6 separate regions of the Homo sapiens genome follow, and regions 1, 2, 3, 4 and 5 are each linked to region 6. Evidence: promoter capture Hi-C in 16 types of primary human blood cells and fetal thymus (Javierre and others, 2016). All regions are on one chromosome and are shown on one strand. Each heading gives the region's core, a stretch centred on a gene start or on the middle of the fragment in contact. The rest is flanking DNA. Distances are from core to core; before and after follow the strand shown. Region 1 overlaps CLIP2 (CAP-Gly domain containing linker protein 2). Region 2 overlaps GTF2IRD1 (GTF2I repeat domain containing 1). Region 3 overlaps CLIP2 (CAP-Gly domain containing linker protein 2). Region 4 has its middle 35 kb from the start of GTF2IRD1. Region 5 overlaps GTF2IRD1 (GTF2I repeat domain containing 1). Region 6 holds the start of ELN (elastin).

Region 1 (3,796 bases), core at 832-3,331, 350 kb after region 6:
GAGCTGACCTGGCTGCATCCCCCCGCACAGAGCAGACCTGGAGAGATGGGACCTCCGTGCAGAGGACGGGCTTTGATTTACCCATACATGTCTTAGGGTGCAGGGCTCCTAGGACCCGGGACCTCAGACCCTGTGCCCTGGGGCTGGCACAGACCTGAAGGCAAGCTCTGCCTATCCCCCTGGGGGCACCCATCTCCAACTTAGAAGCTCACCTGGGGAATCAGCGGCAGCCCCCTTTCTGCCAGTCCTAATGAGACTTTAGCAACGGTGCCAACGAGTACTTCCCCAGAATGTGGGAGTTCCCGGAGTGGGGTCTGGAAGGCTAGAGGGGGTGGCCCTAAAGAGGTCGCTGTCACCAATGTCAATTTTGCTCCAAATCTAGAAATTCCTTAAGCATCTACCCCTTCTTCCTTCAGCTGAACCCATCCTCCCAGCCCCTCTGAGGAGGTCAACACCCAGGTGGGCTGTGCCCACTCCACCAGGGCCAGGAAGGGCCTTTTGAGTGGCTCTGGGTACCACGTCTTATGCCAGGCCCTATGTGACTCCATTTCACCTTAACATCCTTAGATTGATACTGGCTCCATTTCACAGGTGAGCAAACCAAGACTTTCCCAGGTCCACAGCCTCTCAGTGGCAGAGATGTTCAACCCCATTCCCTGTGGGGCTGACAGAGAGTGCCCAAGACAACAGGAATTAATTCATAGGAGGGATGGCTAGCAACGGACTCTTGCCTGTATACAAATTGTACTCAGAGATTCTTGAGTTTCCAGTTCCCCCACATACATTTTTTTTTTTTTTGAGATGGAGTTTTGCTCTTGTTGCCCAGGCTGGAGTGCAGTGGTGGGATCTCGGCTCACTGCAACCTCCGCCTCCCAGGTTCAAGCAATTCTCCTGTATCAGCCTCCCAAGTAGCTGCAATTACAGGCATGCACCACCACGCCCAGCTAATTCTTATATTTTTAGTAGAGGTGGGGTTTCGCCAGGTAGTCCAGGCTGGTCTCAAACTCCTGACTTCAGGTGATCTGCCCGCCTCGGCCTCCCAAAGTGCTGGGATTACAGGCGTGAGGCACCATCCCTGGCCTTTTTTTTGGTTTTGTTTTTGAGACAGGGTCTTGTTCTGTCTCCCAGGCTGGAGTGCAGTGGCATGATCATGGCTCACTACAGTCTCAACCTCCCAGGCTTGAGCGAGCCTCCCACTTCAGCCTTCCAAGTCGCCAGGACCACAGGTGTGCCCCACCACACCTGGCTAATTTTTATAGTTTTTGTAGAGATGGGGTTTCCTCATGTTGCCCAGGCTGGTCTCAAACTCCTGGGCTCAAGCTGTCTGCCCGCCTTTGCCTCCCAAAGTGCTGGGATTACAGGGAGTAGGTACTGCACCTGACCACCCTCATGTATATTCAAACCAGAATTTAGGGGTGGGTGTGGTGGCTCACACCTATAATTCCAGCATTTCGAGAGGCTGAGGCAGGAGGATTGCTTCAGGCCAGGAGTTTGAGACCAGCCTGGACAACATAGTTAGACCCCATCTCTACAAAAATAAAAAATTAGCCGAGTACAGTGGTAGTGTACCTGTAGTCCCCAGCTACGCTGGAGGCTGAGGCAAGAGGATCACTTGAGCCCAGGTGTTTGAGGCTGCAGTGAGCTATGATTGCACCACTGCACTCCAGCCTGAGTGACAGTGTGAGGCTGTGACTCAAGAAAATACACAAACCAAAAAAACCCGAGAATTTAGCATGTGGGCAGTAAGTTCTCAGGACTAATGAATCCAGGGGGCTTTTTTTGTCTAAAAGGAAATCTTTTTGCATCATGCCTTGAGGTCCCTTGTAATGGCCTTCCTGCCCCTTCTCCCAGGAAGGGATTTTGTTTTTTAGCAAGTGCTCTTCCAGGATCCTGGGCTGAAAGAAAAGGAAGAAACCCAAATTAGCTTACGTGCACATGGCCTGATTAGCTGTTCAGGGCAGGCAGAAACAGCCTGCAACTCAGGAACTGAATTCCCTGAGCGGGGAGGTTTGAGGTTGCTGTGGTTCCACAGAGCATGGGGGACAGAGGCCTGAGGATGCCTCCCCCAGTCCCTGCCCCTCATTCACAGGTGCCCTTGGACCAAGAAGTAGTAGTGGCCCCAGAAAGCCCATCTCCTGGCCGGGCGCGGTGGCTCACACCTGTAATCCCAGCTACTCAGGAGGCTGAGGCACAAGGATTACTTGAACCCGGGACGTGGAGGTTGCAGTGAGCCAAGATCGTGCCACTGCACTCCGGCCTGGGCAACAGAGGGAGACTCCGTCTGGAAAAAAAAAAAAAAGCCCATCTCTTGATTTTCTGTATACACTGGGGCTTAGTCTAAACGCATATGTCCCCATGTTCAGAGGTTTAGGCCTAAGCACAACTGGACTTTTGGTCTCAGGTAGTAAATATGGGAATTTTAAAAATTATTTTAGTGGCCAGGTGCTGTGGCTCACACCTGTAATCCCAGCACTTTGGGATGCCAAGGCAGGTGGATCACCTGAGGTCAGGAGTTTGAGACCAGCCTGGCCAACATGGTGAAAACCCGTCTCTACTAAAAATACAAAAAATTAGCCGGGCATGGTGGCGGGCGCCTGTAGTCCCAGCTACTCGGGAGGCTGAGGCAGGAGAATCGCTTCAGAGTCCTGGAGGCAGAGGTTGCAGTGAGCCGAGATCACGCCACTGCACTCCAGCCTGGGCGACGGAGTGAGACTCCATCTCAAAAAATAATAATAAAAAAACCCCAAAATTAGCTGGGCGTGGTGGTGGGCACCTGTAATCCCAGCTACTCGCTCGGGAGGCCGAGGCAGGAGAATCGCTTGAACCCGGGAGGTGGAGGTTGCAGTGAGCTGAGATTGAGCCATTGCACTCTAGCCTGGATATCAGGGCGAGACTCCTTCTCAAAAAAAAAGAAAAAGAAAAATTTAGTGTGAGCCTCATTACTGCATCGTATATAAATTATGATCCAAGGGGCTTAGTTCATTACAACTAATTGAGACTCAAATGGGACTTGGGATGTATGAACAGAAGTATGAGGGGCAGGATGATAGAGGTGACTGCCTACTCAGCTCTGTGCTTCCCTGATCTGCAGTGCCAGACTCTGGCTGGCTCGGAGGACAGCCAGCCTGGGCAGGAGACTGGAAACTCCTGCCAAGAGTGGCAGGGAGCCTATTGGTTGTGTTTTGACTTTTGTCATAGTGATGTGTGCCAGGCTGATTTTTTTTTTTAATAGGTCTTTTCTTCTTTGGCCTCTGGGTTTATTATTAAAAAGAAATGTTGGAGAGAAAGAAGCTAGCATTTAATGAAGTCCCTCCAGGAGGTGGCCCCAAGCACGCTGTGCACACACTAACCCAAAGCAGCCAATATTTGTTTGATGGATGGGAAACTGAGGCCAGAAGTCTTGTCTCTGGGAGACAGAGAAACAAATTCCCAGGACAAATTTCTGTAGGCATTGCAGGGAAGGAGCCATCTGTTTAATATAATAAACATTTTCAACAAAGGAAGGGTAGGAGGTATTCATGTATAAGCTGCACAGGCGGCCTTCAGCAGAGCTGGGTGCAGAATGGGGGTCCTCTGTTGTCAGGGAGGTCCGACTGAGGACGTCTGCACTCCCTGCCACCGCAGCAAGTCCCTGAGTCCGTCACTGAGGTCCCCCTTTGTAGGAGTAGGGTGTGCAAACTGCAGGTGTGCTTGCTGGGCTGGCTGGGGCTGGGGCCAAGGGGCAGAGGTGAGCATCCCCCTTACAGGGGCTCTTTTTGCAGATGATTGAGTCGAATGACATTTCAGAGGAGACGAT
Region 2 (3,853 bases), core at 322-2,821, 460 kb after region 6:
GTTTTGTGGTGAATAGGAAAGAATTTGCAATCAGCGTAGCTGTTAAGCCCACAGGAGAGCAAGTTGTATTATGTTGTGAGCCTGGGTTGGGTGTGCAGAGATCTGGGGTTCAGTCTGACGCCTCTGGGCCGTGGTTTCCCTAGATGGACATGCAGGTGGTTAGATGAGGGGCCCATCTAGCTCAGTGCTGTGATGCTAAGCATATACTTCTCAGTGCTAAGAGGTTGTTTTCCAAAGTGTTTGAAGTTTGCTCTTAAGATCTTATTTAGGCCGGTCACAGTGGCTCATTCCTGTAATCCCAGCACTTTGGGAGACTGAGGCAGGATTGCTTGAGCCCAAGAATTTGAGCCCAGCCTGGGCAACATAGCAAGGCCCCATCTCTAAAAAAAAAAAAATTTTTTTTTTAATTAGCTGGGCATGGTGGCATGTGTCTGCAGTTCCAGCTACTTGCGAGGCTGAGGGAAAGAATCGCTTGAGCCCAGGAATTTGAGGCTGCAATGAGCTATGATTGCAGCACTGCACTCCAGGCTGGGTGGCAGAACAAGACTGTCTCTACAAAAAAAATTTTTAAAAATCAGGCATGGCAGCATGCACCTGTAACCCCAGCTACTTGGGAGGCTGAGGCAGGCGGATGGCTGGAGTCCAGGAATTTGAGGCTGCAGTGAGCCATGATCGTGCCACTGCATTCCAGCCTGGGTGACAGAGCGAGACTCCATCTTTACAAAACATTTTTAAAAAAATTAGCAGGGAGCTACTCGGGAGGCTGAGGCCGGCAGATGGCTTGAGTCCAGGAGTTTGAGGGTGCAGTGAGCCATAATCACGCCATTGCATTCCAGCCTAGGTGGCAGAGCAAGACTCTGTCTCTTTAAAAAAAAAAAAATCTTATTTACCAACTTGGCTCATTTCTAAGTGGAGCAAAAATGCAGTGTCTCACTTCTGCTCTGCCTGAATTACCTCCAGGCCAGATTTCTTGGTGGAAGGAAGGAGCCGTGTAGATACAGCCAGAGTCTCCCAGGTGCAAAGACCCTCTGAGAGGCCTTGATAAGTGGGCAGCTTCCACTGAGCAGCCCCCAGAGATGGAGACTCAGTGCCCACACAGCAGCTTGTTCTTCCATTCTGGGACAGTTCTTCCCATTAGGAATGTTCCCTTGTGTTGGCTGAAAGCCTGTGTCCCTAAATTCTCTGTCAGCGTAATGGCAATGAACCTGGACTTGGGTCTTCAGGAACCAAAGCCATGGAGTCAAGGATTTGGAGAGATGGTATATGCATCACCGGGCCTAACATGATGGTCTTTTTTTATTTTTAAATTGAGACAGGGTCTCACTCTGTCACCCAGGCTGGAGTGCAGTAGTGTGACCTCAGCTCACTGCAACCTCTACCTCCCAGGCTCAAGTGATCCTCCTGTCTCAGCCTCCCAAAGTACTGAGATTACAGGCATGAGCCACCACACCCGGCCATCCTTCTTTTTTTTTTTTTTTTTTTGAATTGGAGTCTCACTCTTTCACCCACCCAGGCTGGAGCGAAGTGGTGCGATCTTGGCTTACTGCAACCTCCACCCTCCGGGTTCAAGCAATTCTCCTGCCTCAGCCTCCCGAGTAGCTGTGATTACAGGCACCTGCCACCACAGCCAGCTAATTTTTGTATTTTTAGTAGAGACGAGATTTCACCATGTTGGCCAGGCTGGTCTCAAACTCCTGACGTCAGGTGATCCACCCGCCTCAGCCTCCCAAATGTTAGGATTACAGTCATGAGCCACTGCACCCAGCCTGTCTTTCCTTTTTAAGGCTCAGTAATATTCCATTGTATGGATAGACTGTGGTTTTTTATCCATTCATCATCGGACGCTGGGACGGTTTCTGCCTTTTGGCTATTGTGAATACTGATCCTATGAACATGGCTGTACAGATGTGTCTTTGAGACTATTACTGTTTTATTAACAACATTGCTGTAATGAGGGATCTCAAATCTGGAGTGGATCTGAGAAATCGCCTCTTTCAACCCCTTATCCAATGCTTGAGTCCTTCCTTCCAGAATCCCACTGAGACTTCTTCTGGCCTCAGATGCGTGGGTGGGAGACATGCCACCTCCCGACACCTCTGACCAAGGGCCCGGAGCTGGGTGGCTTAGGGTGCAGGAAAGAGGCTTGTGAGTGGGATCATGCCAGAGGGATGTGCATCAAGGCATCCTCTAGCTACAGATGCCCCAGGGGAGGCAGCAGTGGGGCTGCTGCAGGAGAAACCTGGAATGGATGTTTGGACACACTTTCCTCAATGGCCAGGATTGATGGACAGTGGAATTCATCAGACGAGTCTTGGAGACTGAGGCCTTTAAAAATAGATGCAGCTGGCTGGGTGCGGTGGCTCACGCCTGTAATCCCAGCACTTTGAGAGGCCGAGGCGGGCGGATCACGAGGTCAGGAGATCGAGACCATCCTGGCTAACACGGTGAAACCCCGTCTCTACTAAAAACACAAAAAATTAGCTGGGCGTGGTGGCGGACGCCTGTAGTCCCAGCTACTCGGGAGGCTGAGGCAGGAGAATGGTGTGAACCCAGGAGGCGGAGCTTGCAGTGAGCCGAGATAGTGCCACTGCAGTCTGGCCTGGGTAAAAGAGCAAGACTCCATCTCAAAGAAAAAAAAAAAATAGATGCAGCTGGGAGCAGTGGCTCACACCTATAATCCCGGCACTTTGAGAGGCCGAGGCAGGTGGATCACTTGAGGGCAGGAGTTTGAGACCAGCCTGGGCAACATAGCAAGACTCTGTCTCTACTAAAAATTTTTTAAAAAATTAGCCGGGTATGGTGGCGCAATCATGTAGTCCCAGGTACTCGTGAGCCTGAGGCAGGAGAATTGCTTGAGTCCAGGAAGGTGGGGCTGCAGTGAGCTATGATCGTGCCTCTGCACTCCAGCCTCGGTGACAGAGTGAGACCCTGTCTTTAAAAAAAAAGAAGAAGAAAGAAAAGAAAATGCCTCCCATGGAATCTGTTTCTTTTTTTTTTTGAGATGGAGTCTTGCCCTGTCACCCAGGCTGGAGTACGGTGGCATGATCTTGGCTCACTGCAACCTCCGCCTCCCAGGTTCAAGCAGTTCTCCTGCCTCAGCCTCCTGAGTAGCTGGGATTATAGGTGCCCAACACCACGCCCAGCTAATTTTTGTATTTTTAGTAGAGATGTGGTTTCACCATGTTGGCCAGGCTGGTCTCGAACTCTTGACCTCAAGTGATCCGCCCACACCGCCGTGGAGTCTATTTCTGTTAGGAATGTGTTTGTTGCAAGCAACCTGAGAAACAGAGGCTTAGGAGAGAGGGGTGTCTCGTGTAACAGGAGGCATGGGTGGGTGGTCCAGCCGCAGGCAGCTGCTCAGGCACATCTGAGGGGCCTGCGCCATCTCTCTCTCTCTCCTCTGGCTGAGGGCTTTGGTCATCCTGGCCTAAAGTGGATGTCAGCCACCAGGCAGGGCATAGGGAGTAAGGGATTGAGCCCCCCATTGCCTGCTTCCAGGGAAACTCTGCTCTTTTGTTTGGGAATGCCTCACTGGTTAGACTGTGTCTTGTGGTCATCTCTGGCTGCAAGAGAGTATAGGAATGGGAGGATTTTGTGTTGTGGCCCCTACAGAAGAGGAGAGCAAGGGAGAAGTTGGTTATATGGGGATTGAGGTACCAGCCACACAGCATCTGTCTGCCTCACAATCCCAGCACGTTCAGCTGGGCATGGTGGCTCATGCCTATAGTCCCAGCTACTCAGGAAGCTGAGGCAGGAGGATTGCTTGAGCCTAGGAGTTCAGGACCAGCCTGAGCAACATAGCAAGACCATGTCTCTACAAAAAAAAAAAATGAAAAAAAATAGCCAAGCGTGG
Region 3 (3,807 bases), core at 105-2,604, 330 kb after region 6:
ACACCTGTGGTTTCAGCTACCTGGGAGGCTGAGGTGGGAGGATTGCATGAGCCCAGGAGGTTGAGGCTGCAGTGAGCTATGATCGCACCGCTGCACTCCAGCCTGGGTAACAGAGCCAGACCCTGTCTCGAAAGAAAGAAAAAAACTGGATGGGCCCAGTTCTCGTGGTCCAGTGTGGAATCCGTGACCAGAGAGGTCTTGACAGAAGACGAGAATCCAGGGTTTCCATAACAATGCTTTGCCTTCCTGTTTGCAAGATGAATGTTTCTTTTGACTCACTTTTGCTTTCAGAATTCAGGGGTGGGTTGGACAGCAGTCCCCATCCCACCCCAAGGTTTCTCTTTCAAGCTTTTGCTTCTCTATGCAGGGATTCTGTGGGCAGAGAGCTGATGGGAATCCTTCATTCTGGGGATGGTCTGAGGGTAGCCTGAAAGTGGGGCTGCAGCTGTGGCTGGGGTCTCTGAACAGTCTGTGGGAGCCAAGCTTAGCGGGTGTTGGAGCCCAGCACACTGGAGGACCAGTCTCAGCTTTGCTGCGTAACCAGCTGTGTGACTGTGGGCAAGTTATTTAACCTCTCTGAGCCTAAATTTTCTCATTTGTGAATGTAGATAACTTTGGGGGATGGAAATGAGCATTCATTTAAAGAGACTGGCACAAAGTGGGTCCCAGTAATTATTTCCTACTTCCAAGAGTATTCTCATTGGCTGTTCACAGCTGCAGAGACTCTCAGACCCTACTCACCTATATCCTTTTTTTGAGAGTCCTATCTCTCCACCTGGAAGATTTCCACCTTGGAGTGTCTTTCCACATGGGCCCCAAGGAGGTGTCTTTCTCTCTTTCTGCCAGGCTCTGAAGAGGCAGAGGAGGCAGGGGAGGCTCTCCAGGCTTTGGGGCCGTGACAGCAGCTTGGGTCTCTCCTGCTTCCACAGGTACTTCCAGTGCCCACCCAAGTTTGGTCTCTTCGCGCCCATCCACAAAGTGATCCGTATCGGCTTCCCATCTACCAGCCCAGCCAAGGCCAAGAAGACCAAGCGTATGGCCATGGGTGTGTCAGCACTGACCCACAGTCCCAGCAGTTCCTCCATCAGCTCCGTCAGCTCTGTGGCCTCCTCCGTGGGGGGTCGGCCCAGCCGCAGTGGCCTGGTGAGGGTGGGGCTGCAGAAGGGGATTCTCTGGTGTGCGTTTGGGAGGGGTGAGGATGTAAGAGATCCAGGTGTTCTGGTCTGCCCCTGACTTACTCTAGTTCCAGTTTGGGATTTTTGAACAAAGAAGAAAGTGCATATCTTTTAATAGGGAAAATTGAGCCATTTACCTTTATTGCTGTTTTTATATAACTGATTTATTGGAACCCTAAGCCTTTCTCTGGAAGTTAAGGAGGGTTATACAGATGCAGGGCAGGGAGTTCAGAAAGGTTGGCATCAAACCCTGGATGAAGGGAAAAGAGGAGGCTGCTTGGTGGCTATGGGCAGAGGGCATTCTGTCCAAACCCAATCTAGGATTGGAGGTTCCTCCTTTCCCAGGAAAAAGTGGCCAAAGTGAGGGAGTCAGAGGCTCTGGCTATCAGGAGCTGACTCTCCTGAGATGGGGAGTTTCCTGAATCTCAAACATCAAGATTCCCCGCTGGGTGAGTCAGCAGGGGCCAGGATGTCAGAGTACTGGCAGGGGAAGAGCAGGACCCTGGGAGTCAAGGCACTTGGGCTCCCACCTGCTATGTTGCTGTAGATTAGGCTGGACAGAGCCAGTCTGCCCTGCAGTGCTTCAGATCCCTGAGACCCGCCTGCATCCACACCTTCCTGCAGCTCACGGAGACCTCTTCACGCTACGCCCGCAAGATCTCGGGCACCACGGCCTTGCAGGAGGCACTGAAGGAGAAGCAGCAGCACATTGAGCAGCTGCTGGCTGAACGAGACCTGGAACGGGCTGAGGTGGCCAAGGCCACAAGCCACATCTGCGAGGTGGAGAAGGAGATTGCCCTGCTCAAGGCACAGCATGAGCAGGTGAGTGGCAGGTGGGGCTGGGGGCAGAGCTTCTCCAGCCAGCCTCATAGAGTCTCACCCACTCAGAGCGGAGACCCTGGAGGGGGTGGGTGCAGAGAAATATGAAGATAACACAAGCAGTACCTGTCCCCCGCTTTCCAGAGATAAGCCTCAGTGACCTGGTGAATTTCCTTCCAGTCTTTTCTGCCTATGTATAAGGATACATACACCTACTTTCAGAATCTGGTTACAAGCTTGTATATCCTGCTTTTTAATTATTTATTTATTTATTATTTTTCTTTCTTTCTTTTTTTTTTTTTGACGGAATCTCATTCTGTCACCCAGGCTGGGGTGTAGTGGTGCAATCTCGGCTCACTGCAACCTCCACCTCCTCGGTTCAAGCGATTCTCCTGCCTCAGCCTCTTGAGTAACTGGGATTACAGGCATGTGCCACCATGCCCAGCTAATTTTTGTACTTTTAGTAGAGACGGGGTTTCACCATGTTGGTCAGGCTGGTCTCGAACTCCTGACCTCGTGATCCACCCGCCTTGGCCTCCCAAAGTGCTGGGATTACAGGTGTGAGCCACTGCAAGGGTTTTTTTTTTTTTTTTATGAGACAGAGTCTCACTCTGTTCCCCAGGCTGGAGGGCAGTGGTGCAATCTCAGCTCACTGCAACCTCCACCTCCCAGGTTCAAGCGATTCTCCTGCCTCAGCCTCTCAAGTAGTTGGGATTACAGCACCTGCTACCAAACCAGGCTAATTTTTGTATTTTAAGTAGAGATGGGGTTTCACCCTGTTGGTCAGGCTGGCCTGGAATTCCTGACCTCAAGTGATCTGCCTGCCTTGGCCTCCCAAAGTGCTGGGATTACAGGTGTGAGCCACCATGCCCAGCCCTGCTTTTTTATTTTTTTAAAATATTTTTAATATAGGGATGGGGTCATGCTGTGTTGGTCAGCCTGGTCTCGAACTCCTGGCCTCAGGCAATCCTTGGCCTTCCAAAGTGCTAGGATTACAGGTGTGAGCCACTGCACTTGGCCTAATCTGCTTTTCTTCCCCGGCTACTTATTATACTGCAAGCATTTTCTAGGTCCTGGCAAATTCCTCATCATTCTTTTTTTTTTTTATTTTATTTTTTTCTTTTAGAGATAGGGCCTTGCTTTGTTGCCCAGGTTGGAGTGCAGTGACGCCATCATAGCTCCACTCCTGGGTTCAAGTGATCCTCCCACCTCAGCCTCCTGAGTGGCTGGGACTATAGGTGCACGCTACCACATCCAGCTAAATTTTGTATTTTTTTGTGGAGACGGAGTCTTGCTATGTTGCCCAGGCTGGTCTGAAACTCCTGGCCTCAAGTGACCCTCCCACCTTGGTCTCTCAAAGCACCGCGATTATAGGCATAAGCCATCGTGCCCCACCTCTTCCCCATCTTGATGTCTGCATTGCTGTCTATCACAGGCTTTGTCCTTACTGACATCTGACGTGACTAGTCCCCTGTTGTTTAGATTATTTCCCATTTTTCACTTTTTTTGAGACAGAGTCTCGCTCTGTCACCCAGGCTGGAGTGCAGTAACACGATCTTGGCTCACTGCACCCTCTGCCTCTGGATTCAAGCAATTCTCCTGCCTCAGCGTCCTTAGTAGCTGGGACTACAGGTGTGTGCCACCACGCCCAGCTAATCTAATTTTTGTATTTTTAGTAGAGAAGGGGTTTCACCATGTTGGACAGGCTGGTCTTGAACTCCTGGCCTCAAGTGATCAGCCCGCCTCGGCCTCCCAGTGTACTGGGATTACATGTGTGAGCCACCGTGCCCGGCCAATTTTTCACTCTTTCTAC
Region 4 (3,726 bases), core at 399-2,898, 390 kb after region 6:
TGCTCTGCCTGAGAGGGAGACATTGATCAAACCCTCCAGGTCTGATCGGGAAACATTTGCCTTCTCCTTTTGTGGGGTCCTGGGGTGAAGAACAGGAGGGGAGGCTGGAGGGTGGGTGACACCACGCACCCCTGGGCGGCAAGAGACCCACCAGCCAAGTCTTGCCTGTGATGCCTCCCATTTACCAGCAGGTGTCACCCTCGGCCCTCTCACTGCGGCTTGTCCATTCCACCCTCTGTCCAGACTGGGCTTTAGGGCTGCAAGGCTGGAGACACAGGCCAGCTTTGCACGTGGGAGCAACAACGGGGACCCAGGTGTCCCGGCTCCTAGTCCCAGAGCTCCCTGTCCCTGTTGCCTCCCAGACTTGGTTCAGGCCTCTCTGTGAGTATCCGTGTGTGTCCACACTTCCATCCCTGGGAGAGAGGCCGGCCAGGGCGTGGACATTCATTCCCTCTCTGGGACCGTGCCGGGCCAGGACTGTCCTGGCCTCCCTCCTCCCGCACAGCACTGCCTCCCCTCCCCGCAGGCTGGGCTCCCTCCACAGAGCTGACCCTGGCCTACTTTCTCAGTCCTGAACCCTCCCATCACGTCCCCCTTGCCAACCTCAGCTGGGCAGTCACCCTGGTCCCGCTCCCACTCCCCAAGAGAGGCTGGGAAGTGTTTTGAGACTGAAGTTGGGGTCCAGTGTAAATTCAGAAGGAACATGGTATAGGACGAATAACCAGGATGCTCACTTCTAGAAGCTTCTCTGGAACCTTGGGTAAGGCTGTGGGCCCTTTCTCTGGAGCTACCAGCAAAGGGAAGGACTTGCTGCCTCCAGGGTGGCTCCAGCCCCGTCTAGACCCCCTCCCAGCCACCCTCTCCCGCTGCCACAATTTCCAGCTGGCCCCACGCACAGCTGTGCCTCGGTTTCCCAGCAGCCCCAAGCCTGGAGTTCACCAGGAGCACCTTCACAGCCCCGCACCGGGTCCGCAGCCTGGGGTCCATCATATTCATCACACTCTGGGCCCTGTCCCCCACCCCCAGCTCAGGCCTCAGATCCTGCCTCCAACCCCACACCCCCAGGCCTTTCCAAGTGACCCACACACATGCATGGGCACACACACACAGATACATACACACATACACAGAGACACACATACATGTACACATCATATATATATACACGCACACAGAGACACATATAAACATGCACACACGTACACACATACATGTACACACGTACACACATGCATACACATATACATACACAAACACATACATACACAAACACTATAGACACGTACACAGACACACACAAATACGTACACATACACAAAAACTCATACACATACACAAACACGTACATACACAGACACACAAACACTACAGACACATGTACACACGGACAAATACACATACACACAGACACACATACATGTACACATATACACATGTACACAGGTACACACGCACATACACACGTTACACACAAAGAGATGTATACTCACATACACAAACATGCACATATATACACACAAACAATATACATACACATACACATACACACACGCATATACATGCATATACATCCACACTTGTGCACACATACACACATGCACACACACACACTTTTTCTTCACGGCCTGCAGAGACGCGCCCATCGGGGACTTGATTCACACCTCTCTCCCTAGAGGGGAGTGCTCTGTGTGCACCGCAACATATCTCTAACCTCTTTTTTTAAATTGACAAAAATTGTATCTATTTATGGTGTGCAATATGATGTTTTGAAATATGTATAAAGTGTGGACCAGCTACATCAAGCTAATTAGCATATGCATTACCTCATTTGTCTTTTTGTGGGGAGTGTGCTGAGAACGCTTAAAATCCACTGTCTTGGTACTTTGCAAGTTTAGAACACATTGTTATCAAGGATAGCCACCATGTTGTACTTGGATCTCTTGAACTTAGTCCTCCTAACTGAAATTTTTGTGTGTTTTTTTCCTTGTGTGTGTGTGACAGAGTCTCACTCTGTTGCCCAGGCTGGAGTGCAGTGGTGCAATCAGCTCACTGCAGCCTTCATCTCTGGGCTCAAGCCGTCCTCCTGCCTCAGCCTTCCAAGTAGCTGGGACTACAGGTGTGCACCACCATGCCCAGCTAATTGTTTGTATTTTTAGAGAGATGGGGTTTTGCCATGTTGCCCAGGCTGGTCTCGAACTCTTGGGCTCAAACGATTGGCCTGTCTCAGCCTCCTAGATTGCTGGGATTACAGGCATGAGCCACCACTGCCACCCCCACATCTCTGACTCTCAGCCCAGGGCGTGGCACACAGGTGCCCACGAGTGGCTGTCAGACGGATTGATCAATTCCACCACTGCACAAACTTCCATCTTCAATCTTGCACTCCACCTCAACTGCTCTCCCAGAGCTCCAGACACTGCCAGGTTGCCCCCGCATCCTGACAAACTGTCCTCTTTCTGTACCCTTTCCAAGTCATCTAATTGTCCTCATTTTTGTTTTTTTTTTTTTTTTTTTGTAATTTGAGTTTATTTGACCATCTTGATCCGAAATGTTCAAGCTTTTGGCTATAGTTTTCTTCATTTATTTATTCAATATTTTTTAGTAACTCTATTAATTAATTGATTTCCTTCCTTCCTTCCCTCCCTCCCTCCTTCCCTCCCTCCCTCCTTCCCTCCCTCCCTCCTTCTCTTCTTCCTTCCCTCCTCCCTCCCTGCCTCCTTCCTTTCTGCCCACCCACTTTCTTTCTTTCCTTCTTTCTTTCTTTTTCTTTCTTTCCTTTCTTTCTTTCTTTTTTCTTTCTTTTTCTTTCCTTCCTTCTTTCTTTCTCTTTCTTCTTTCTCTTTCTTTCTCTCTTTCTCTCTCTTTCTTTCTTTCTCTTTCCTCCCTTCCTTTATCTCTTTTTCTTTCTTTCTTTTTCCTTCTTTATTTTGAAGTGGAGTCCCGCTCTGTCACCCAAGCTGGAGTGCAGTGGCGCAATCTCTGTTCACTGCAACCTCTGCTTCCCGTGTTCAAGCGATTCTCCTGCCTCAGCCTCCCAAGTAGCTGGGATTACAGGCATGCGCCACCACGCCCAGCTAATTTTGTATTTTTAGTAGAGTCAGGGTTTCACCATGTTGGTTAGGCTGGTCTCAACTCCTAACCTCAGGTGATCCACCCAGAATTGTTTTCTTTAAAACAACTTTTCTGTACTGGACATGGTGGCTCACACCTGTAATCTGGCACTTTGGGAGGTCGAGGCGGGAGGATTGCTTGAGCTTAGGAGTTCGAGACCAGCCTGGGCAACATGGTGAAACCCCAGGCATGGCGGCACATGTCTGTAATCCCAGCTACTGGGGAGGCTGACGTGGGAGGATCACCTGAGTCCAGGAGGCCGAGGCTGCAGTGAGCCATGATCATGCCACTGCCCTCCAGCCTGGATGACAGAGCGAGACCCTGTCTCAAATAAATAAATAATAAATAAATAAATAAAGCTGTTTTTCTTTCTTTCTTTCTTTCTTTCTTTCTTTCTTTCTTTCTTTCTTTCTTTCTTTCGTTTGTTCTTTCTTTCCTTCCTTCTTTCTTTCTTTTATTTCAGTCCTCTTTACTTGAAAGTTTATCTCTTGTTCAGAAAATAAATATGGGCCAGGTGCGGTGGCTCATGCCTGTAATCCTAGCACTCTGGGAGGCTGAAGCAGGAGGCTCACTTGAGCCCAGGAGCTGGAGATCAGTCTGGGCAACATAGTGAGA
Region 5 (4,029 bases), core at 110-2,609, 480 kb after region 6:
CACCCGCAAAGACGAGATCATCACCAGCCTCGTGTCTGCCTTAGACTCCATGGTGAGTGTCCCCACCCACCCAAGAGGAGGGGACAGGGTGAGCGTCCCCACCTGCCTTGTAGCTCAAGTCCTACCTCAGCTACTCGAAGGAGCTTTCACTGACCTGAACCTCAGTTTATCTGACTGCAGCTAGGGCCACGATGCCTGCATCAAGGGTGTGAGATGTGAGACTTCAGCGAGATCCAGTACATAAAAATCTAGCCCTGGGGCCGGGCACAGTGGCTCATGCCTGTAATCCTAGCACTTTGGGAGGCCGGGGTCGGTGGATCACTAGGTCAGTGGTTCGAGACTAGCCTGGCCAACATGGTGAAACCCCATCTCTACTAAAGATACAAAAAATTAGCTGGGCGTGGTGGCATGCGCCTGTAATCCCAGCTACTTGGGAGGCTGAGGCAGGAGAATTGCTTGAACCTGGGAGGTGGAGGTTGCAGTGAGCCGAGGTCGTGCCATTGTACTCCAGCCTGGGTGACAGGGCAAGACTCCGTCTTAAAAAAAAAAAAAAAAAAATCTAGCCCTGGAATAAACACTGGCTCTCCGCCCTCGTCCCCTTGTCCCTTCACCCCTCTTGCCATTCCCACTTTGTCCCTGGGATGAACCACATGCCTATCTCCTAGCAGGTGACCTGGGGGATAATGTGTGGGGAGCCATTCACTAGAAAGATGTAATCCCCAACGTTAAAGCAAGAGTTCTAACTGCATCTCGGGCAGGAAGAGAGAAACCGAGCTTTGTATAATACATCACTCCCCTGGCGCTATTGCCTACATACCTAGACCTATAACAATTTATCCCAAATGAGGACATCATAATACCATTTTCCTCTAGCCTTTTCCTGGGGGGAAGTTCTGTGATGGAAGTGTTAAAAAAAAAAATCTGGCCCAGCACGGTGGCTCACGCAAGTAATCCCAGCACTTTTAGGGGCCGAGGCGGGTGGATCATTTGGGGTCAGGAGTTCGAGACCAGCCTGGCCAACATGGCAAAATCCCATCTCTAGTAAAAATATAAAAATTAGCTGGGCCTGGTGGCACATGCCTGTAATCCCAGCTACTCGGGAGGCTGAGGCAGGAGAATCACTTGAACCCTGGAAGTGGAGGTTGCAGTGAGAAGAGATAGCACCACTGCACTCCCGCCTGGGCAACAGAGGGGGACTCCGTCTCAAAAAAAAATAAATAAAAATAAAAAAATTAGACTGGCATGGTGGCACATTCCTGTAATCCTGCCTACTCAGGAGGATGAGGCAGGAGAATTGCTTGAACCTGGGAGGCAGAGGTTGCAGCGAACCGAGATCGTGCCACTGCACTTCAGCCTGGGCAACAGAGGAGACTCTCTCAATTAAAAAAATTTTTTTAAATAAAAATAAAATTAAAAATCTGTCTAACATCAGTTAGCTGCGCTCCTGCATTTTAGGATGATGAAGCACAGAGAGGGTAGTACCTTGCCCAAAGTCACACAGCATGACCAGTTTTGTTTTGTTTTGTTTTGTTTTGTTTTTGAGACGGAGTTTCGCTCTGTCGCCAGGCTGGAGTGCAGTGGTGTGATCTCGACTCACTGCAACCTCCGCCTCCCAGGTTCAAGCAATTCTCCTGCCTCAGCCTCCCCAGTAGCTGGGACTACAGGCCCCCACCACCACACGTGGCCAGATAATTTTTGTACTTTTAGTAGAGACCGGGTTTCACCATGTTGGCCAGGATGGTCACAATCTCTTGACCTCGTGATCCGCCCACCTCAGCCTCTCAAAGTGCTGGGATTACAGGCGTGAGCCACTGCGCCTGGCCCAGCAAGACCAGTTTTTAGAGCGAACTTCTGGGTACAAAGTCTCCCCGAAAAATAAAGGACCTCCTTCAAGCTGTTCCTGCTGTAGGTGGCTCAAGGGCTGCTTAAGTGGTGTTTGGGGCAGCGGTGGGAGACACCCCTGGAAAAGGGGCTGGGTGCCACACTCTCTCCATGATGACCCCTCCCCTATGCAGAGTGACTTTCATGAGGAGGGGGCCCCAGGAGCTCAGCCCTGTGTCCCAAAGTACTGTGAGCTTGGCATTGATGGAGGTGTGGCTGATGTGGGCAGTGATGGGCGATGCCATGGCCACTAGTGACATGTGGCTATTTGCAATTTTTTTTTTTTTTTTTGGAGATAGGGTTTTGCTCTGTCACCCAGGCTGGAGTGCAATGGCGCGATCTTGGCTCACTGCAACCTCCGCCTCCTGGGCTCAAGTGATTCTCCTGCCTCAGCCTCTGGAGTAGCTGGGATTACAGGTGTGCGCCACCACACCTGGCTAATTTTTTTGTATTTTTAGTAGAGACGGGGTTTCACCATGTTGGCCAGGCTGGTCTCAAACTCCTGACCTCAGGTGATCCACCTGCCTCAGCCTCCCAAAGTGCTGGGATTACAGGTGTGAGCCACTGCCCCTGATTCATTTAAATTCGAATTCGTTAAAACGAAATAAACAACTCAGTTGTTCAGTTGCACCAGCCTCATTTTACGTGCTCAGTAGTCAGAAGTGGCTGGTGTCTATGGATTGGACAGTGCAGAGGTAGAATGTTTTCATAGTCATAGAAAGTTACACTGGGTTGGCCAGGCGCAATGGCTCACGCATATAATCCCAGCACCCTGAGAGGCTGAGTGGGGCAGATCACTTGAGGCCAGGAGTTTGAGACCAGCCTGGCCAACATGGTGAAACTCCATCTCTACTGAAAATACAAAAATTAGCCAGGCATGGTGATGCATGCCTGTGGTCCTAGCTATTCGGGAGGCCGAGGCAGGAGAATCGCCTGAGCCTGGGAGGCAGAGGTTACAGTGAGCCGAGGTCGTGCCACTGCACTCCAGCCTAGGTGACAGAGCAAGACTTTGTCTCAAAAAAAAAAAAAAAAAGTTCTACTTGGCAGCAGTGGTCTAGTGAGTGTTTCAGAGCCTCCTTGGAGGAGCACATGACCCTATAGTTATCCTAGCAGTGCGAACAAGACAGGCTCCCCCGTCCCTGGGCCTTTTAAGGGTTTCCTGAGGGACCCTATGGGTGACAATGATATTTGCTTAGCAGTAACTTAAGTCCAGCCTCCTCCAAATGCTAGGGTCTTTTGGTGACCTGTAGGGAGGGTGGGCTGAAGGGATGTGCCTTCGTCACCCGCCCCCAATCTCATCCTCTTCCCCACCAGCTCTGGGTGCCTTTAGGTGGGTGAGTTTTCTGCCATGGTCTCGGCGTCTTCAGCTGAGCGGTGACTGTGGGATGAAGCAGCTCTTTCAGCTGTGATGGATGAGAAACAGCTGGATTTATTTGTTTTATTTTTTGTTAATAGTCTACAGTGTTCCCGCGCAGAAAGGGAACAGCAAGCTTTTGTTTTCATCTTAGAAGAAAATGAATGCCCTGTGTTTTAATTTTCCAGTAGGGACCCTGGAGGACAGGCTTCCTGGCCCCACGCCGCGTGCACCTTCCTAACCAGAGCGACTCCAGGCTGGGGCTGGCACAATAGGCAAGATTATGGCCCAGAGAGGTTACCTGTCCCAGGCCACGCAGCACAGAACTGCGTTTGGAAGCCAGACTTTATAGCTGCCAGCACTACCTGACTCAGATGAAAACCAGCATTTATTAGACACAACTGCCTGCCACAGGCTTCACAGTCAGGGTTTTCCTGGTGGGGTAGGTCAGAGACCTGAGATGCTGGTGGTCTTGGTTGTAGGGACCCCCTACATTAAGGCCTCTGGGCTATGGGGCTGCAGACCTCGACTCTGGGGCCATGAGGATAGCCAGCTGCCTGTATACCCATATAGGGTGTCCCAGTTTAGAGATCTTTTTCCTCCAACCATTGAATCCCCATACCCAAGCCCAGTGGCACTGTGGAACTGGGCTGCTTGTCCCCAATTCTATAGACGTGGAAACTGGCCACGCAGAGTGGCTCACGCCTGTAATCCCAGCACTTTGGGAGGCTGAGACGGGCAGATCACCTGAGGTCAGGAGTTTGAGACCAGCCTGGCCAACATGGTGAAACCCC
Region 6 (3,752 bases), core at 247-2,746:
CTTTAACTCATCCCTCGGAGCCATCGTGGTGCAGGGAAAAGCCCACAGGGCGTGTGGCTTCCATGCTGTTCCCTGACTGGCTGTGACCTAGGACAAGGAACAAGTTTCCCTCTCCTATTCTCTAGGTCTCACATTTCTTCTCCTCTAGCAGTAGTGGGAAGTGAGGGGTGGGGGACACGACCCTCCCCTGTTCCATCCCACACTCCAACCCCCAAAATCCCCCAGGGTCCCCGTCCAGCTCAGTCCTGGGGGCAGAAATGCAGAGTTCTCCAGGAACGTGGTCCCAGCTGTTTCAGTGCAGGCCGCCCCCTCCTGGCCACCAGCGGAATGTCAGCCTTCCCAGAGGGGCCGGGAGAACAGCAGTCGAGAAGCTCCCAGACTGGTGTGGGCGCTAGCTGTGCTCAGCGTGGGGATGGGAGGTGACCCAGTGATAATGGGAAGCTGGGCTGCCTGTCAGTCTGCGGGGGGCTCCCACCTCCCTGTTCCCCCACAGGGCACCTGGGGATCCAGCCTGATTTTTACCAGACCCTGCGGCCTGCATGGGGCTGGGTATAGGGCTGTGACCTTGACCCATGCAGAATAGAACCCTGTGTGTCGGGATCCTCCATGTGCTCCAGATGCCCCTGGGGACAGCACCAACATGGCCTTAACTCCCAAGCCATTCCCCTGCCTCTAACCCCCTGGCATCTGCAGGCATCCACCCCAGACCCACCCAACACCTCCTCCCCAGCTTCAGGCGCTAGGCAGAGACCTTGGCCCCTGCAGAATGCAGCCCTGTCCAGGGTCCCCTACCTTCCCCCCAGATCCCTCCCAGAGCAATACCAACCCGGGCCTACCTTCCAGGCCATTCAACCTGCAGCCCCCCGGCCTCTGTAGACATCGCACCCCCCAAACCCCCAGACCTGCCCAATGCCTCCCCTCCCCAGCTTTGGGCAGAACCTGTCTCTAGCCAGACCTGGGGGTGTTGGGGAGTCTGGAGGGCCGGGGTGGGGGCTGAGGCGCGGGACAGCTGGCCCGTATCCTCACACTGGGCCCGGGGCCCAGCCGGAGGGGCGGGGGCCTGGCCACTCGGGCCTTGGCTGGGGCTGGGATTTTTGGCCTGGCCGCCAGGCCCTCCCTTCTGCTTCCTCTCCCGAGGGCTGTCCTGGCAGAGGCCCCCCTCGCTCTTTCTGGCGGGAACAGGGCCAGCAGCGAAAGAACAGTCGCAGAGGGAAAGCGGGAAAGAGATGGGGGAAAGTGTGTGTGTGTGAGTGTGTGCTTGTGTGCATGTGTGTGCGTGTGTGTGTCAAGGAAAAAAGCTCGCAGTCCAGCAGCCCGGGCCTGGGAGGCTTGTGAGCCGGGCCTTTCGTAATTGTCCCCTCCCCGCGGCCCCCTCCCCCAGGCCTCCCCCCTCTCCCGCCCTCCCGCCCGCCCTCTCTCCCTCCCTCTTTCCCTCACAGCCGACGAGGCAACAATTAGGCTTTGGGGATAAAACGAGGTGCGGAGAGCGGGCTGGGGCATTTCTCCCCGAGATGGCGGGTCTGACGGCGGCGGCCCCGCGGCCCGGAGTCCTCCTGCTCCTGCTGTCCATCCTCCACCCCTCTCGGCCTGGAGGTAAGGACCCCTCGCCCCTGTCCCCAGCGCTGCCCACAGCTGCGGGCCCTTTGGGCCAGGTGACTAGACGCTCAAGGGGGAGACCTTCGTCCCTGGGAACTGCAAGGGGTCCCAGGTGGGAGCCCCTCAGCCACTGGGTCCTCGGAACTGCCCCTCCCAGGAGCCAGCCCCGTGCCCAGGAGGAACCTGTCAAAGAGACACCCTCGACTCAGAATAGTCCCAGCCCAGCATCCAGGCTTTGCTGCCCTGCGAGGGCTGAGGGGGCCCCTGCTCAGGTGCCCGGGTGCCCGCCCTGTAGGGGGATCAGAGCATCCTGGGGGAGGGCCCAGCGGGAACCCCTGGGTCTGGAGACACCACAGTCTGCACACCTGTGGACACAGCTGGGGTGCACACCAGCCCTGGGGACAGGGAACCTGGGCTTGATACCAGCTCAACCGCAGTGAGCTGTGTGACCTCAGCAGGTTCCTTGACCCCTGGGAAGCCGGGATCCCCCCGTCAGGAAGGTCAGGGCTCCGCTGAGGATGGGTTTGCAGGTTGGGAAGCTGCTGCTGTGTTCTCCCTGCTGAGGCAGGCAGGGACTCCTGGTATGCATTTGTGTGTGTGTGTGTGTGTGCATGCACACAGGAATGAGCGTGCTGTGTGCTCGTGTGTGTATGTGTGCATGCACAGGTGTGCATGTGTTCAGATGCCCGGCTGTGTCACTGAACAGGGAAAGGGATTTCTGGAGGGGTACATATGTCTGCTCACAGGTTCATCCTTAGGCAGGTGTATGCGTATGTTTGGAGGAGGTATATGAAGCTGCTCCTTAGTGTGTGCAAAAGTCTGCCACCTGACAGACATGTAGACATGTACACATGTAGACATGGGCGATCTGGCATCCAGGTGTGACACTGGTGTGGACTGTCACTGTGTGTGTTATGGAGTGTGTACATCTGTGTGTGTGAATGTGTGTGCGATGTGGCACGCAAGCATGGAAAGGCGGGCTGGAGAAGGTGTCTGTCTCCTGGCAGAGGCAGTGTGGCTGAGACAGAGGCTGGAGTGGATCCTGGGGCACTGCTGGGCCATCTGCTATGTGCCCCAACCCAGGCACAGTTGGTTATGGGGTTTGAGGGTGTGCCCTGTGGGGCTGCTATGCCGCGGCCAACGGGGGAGGACAGAAGAGGCTCCCGGGCATGGGAAAAAGGAGGGCATTTGGTAGGGGGGTCTGGGTGGAGTCTGGTTTCCTCGGGAGTCCTCCTTGCCATGAGAACCAAACGCTGAGTGGGGGGCGGGAGGGCCACGGGGTGGAGTCAAGGGCCTGGGCAGGAGCTGCAGCTGTTTCCGTGAGATTGAACAGCTTCCTGTGCAGGGTCCGCTGCTGGACCTGGATGAGGCCAAGGGACATGGGTACCCACAGGCGGGCCCCAGCAGGGGCAACGAGCCAGGGCCTGAAAGCAGCAGCCCCGGGTCCGTCTCAGCCTCCTCCCCAGGTGTAGCCCCCAAACACCCAGCCACCCTTCTTCCCAGATGGGGCCACCACCTATAGGGTGGCAGTTCATCATCAAGGAACCTTGAGAATTAGAAATTATTATCATCACTTGACAAACAAGGAAGCTGAGGCTCCGGCAGGCTAAGGCAGTCCCCGGGGGTTAGTATCAGCCAGCTCTCTGCCCCAGGTCAAGGGGCAAGGGGGTTAGGAGTGAGCTAGCAGGCAACATTTGGGGAGGGGAAGGCTTGGGGCTGAGTCCTTAAAGCAGGCATGCCCTAGGCAGAATCAGCTCTCTCCTTGTGTCCTCAGTGACACCGCTAAACGCCCAGCTGGCCTCACACTTTGCAGAGATCAATCTCAGCTCTGTCCCAGGTGGCTGGACTTGCTAGGTCCAAATAAGGGGTGTGTGAACTGATGAGCTCGTGTGGGGTTTTGCACAGAAGTGCTACTGAAGTCTGCAGAGGTCGGGGAGCCAACACAGGGAGTGGAGCGCTCAGTCACATGCTCACTGCCACTCACCTGGCTGTCCTGGGGGAGCCTGGCTTCTCCCTCAAGGAGGAGGGTGTCACTTATGCAAGTTCAGCGGCTCCAAGGAAGGAACCCTGTTGCGGGGGTGGGGGAGCAGGAGGAGGGGACAAGCCGCACAGCTCCCAGGCTGTTTCAAAAGTGAGCATGAGAAATTAACCCAGGG

What was found. Contacts are between HindIII fragments. The CHiCAGO score rates a contact against its expected background, and 5 or more counts as called.
Region 1: a contact is called between a fragment that was not itself captured here and the fragment with the promoter of ELN in region 6, in 6 of 17 cell types (neutrophils, total B cells, naive CD8 T cells and 3 more). The highest score is 9.7, in neutrophils.
Region 2: a contact is called between a fragment that was not itself captured here and the fragment with the promoter of ELN in region 6, in 1 of 17 cell types (neutrophils). The highest score is 6.6, in neutrophils.
Region 3: a fragment that was not itself captured here is called in contact with the fragment with the promoter of ELN in region 6 in 2 of 17 cell types (total B cells and neutrophils); the score reaches 6.7 in total B cells.
Region 4: a fragment that was not itself captured here is called in contact with the fragment with the promoter of ELN in region 6 in 3 of 17 cell types (neutrophils, naive B cells and M0 macrophages); the score reaches 7.6 in neutrophils.
Region 5: a contact is called between a fragment that was not itself captured here and the fragment with the promoter of ELN in region 6, in 2 of 17 cell types (neutrophils and naive B cells). The highest score is 5.8, in neutrophils.

Annotation. Positions count from the first base shown.
Region 1 is chr7:74,377,045-74,380,840 of GRCh38, forward strand. It overlaps CLIP2 (CAP-Gly domain containing linker protein 2), which reads left to right. Exons shown (of 17, transcript NM_003388.5): 11 at 3,762-3,796. Among named protein-coding and RNA genes, the nearest start is that of GTF2IRD1, 75 kb to the right of the region's middle. RefSeq lists enhancers at 3,256-3,756, 3,757-3,796. The HindIII fragment of the contact is 8,624 bases long and covers 1-3,796 here.
Region 2 is chr7:74,482,991-74,486,843 of GRCh38, forward strand. All of the region lies in intron 1 of GTF2IRD1 (GTF2I repeat domain containing 1), which reads left to right. Among named protein-coding and RNA genes, the nearest start is that of GTF2IRD1, 31 kb to the left of the region's middle. The HindIII fragment of the contact is 5,637 bases long and covers 1-3,853 here.
Region 3 is chr7:74,355,481-74,359,287 of GRCh38, forward strand. It overlaps CLIP2 (CAP-Gly domain containing linker protein 2), which reads left to right. Exons shown (of 17, transcript NM_003388.5): 5 at 930-1,143; 6 at 1,800-1,997. Among named protein-coding and RNA genes, the nearest start is that of CLIP2, 68 kb to the left of the region's middle. The HindIII fragment of the contact is 1,747 bases long and covers 482-2,228 here.
Region 4 is chr7:74,417,380-74,421,105 of GRCh38, forward strand. No RefSeq gene overlaps it. Among named protein-coding and RNA genes, the nearest start is that of GTF2IRD1, 35 kb to the right of the region's middle. RefSeq lists a silencer at 117-246. The HindIII fragment of the contact is 1,814 bases long and covers 742-2,555 here.
Region 5 is chr7:74,508,152-74,512,180 of GRCh38, forward strand. It overlaps GTF2IRD1 (GTF2I repeat domain containing 1), which reads left to right. Exons shown (of 27, transcript NM_005685.4): 2 at 1-52. Among named protein-coding and RNA genes, the nearest start is that of WBSCR23, 22 kb to the right of the region's middle. The HindIII fragment of the contact is 4,020 bases long and covers 1-3,369 here.
Region 6 is chr7:74,026,677-74,030,428 of GRCh38, forward strand. ELN (elastin) reads left to right here and starts at 1,497. Exons shown (of 33, transcript NM_000501.4): 1 at 1,497-1,593. The coding sequence starts at 1,512. RefSeq lists enhancers at 1-880, 1,853-2,824. The HindIII fragment of the contact is 20,716 bases long and covers 1-3,752 here.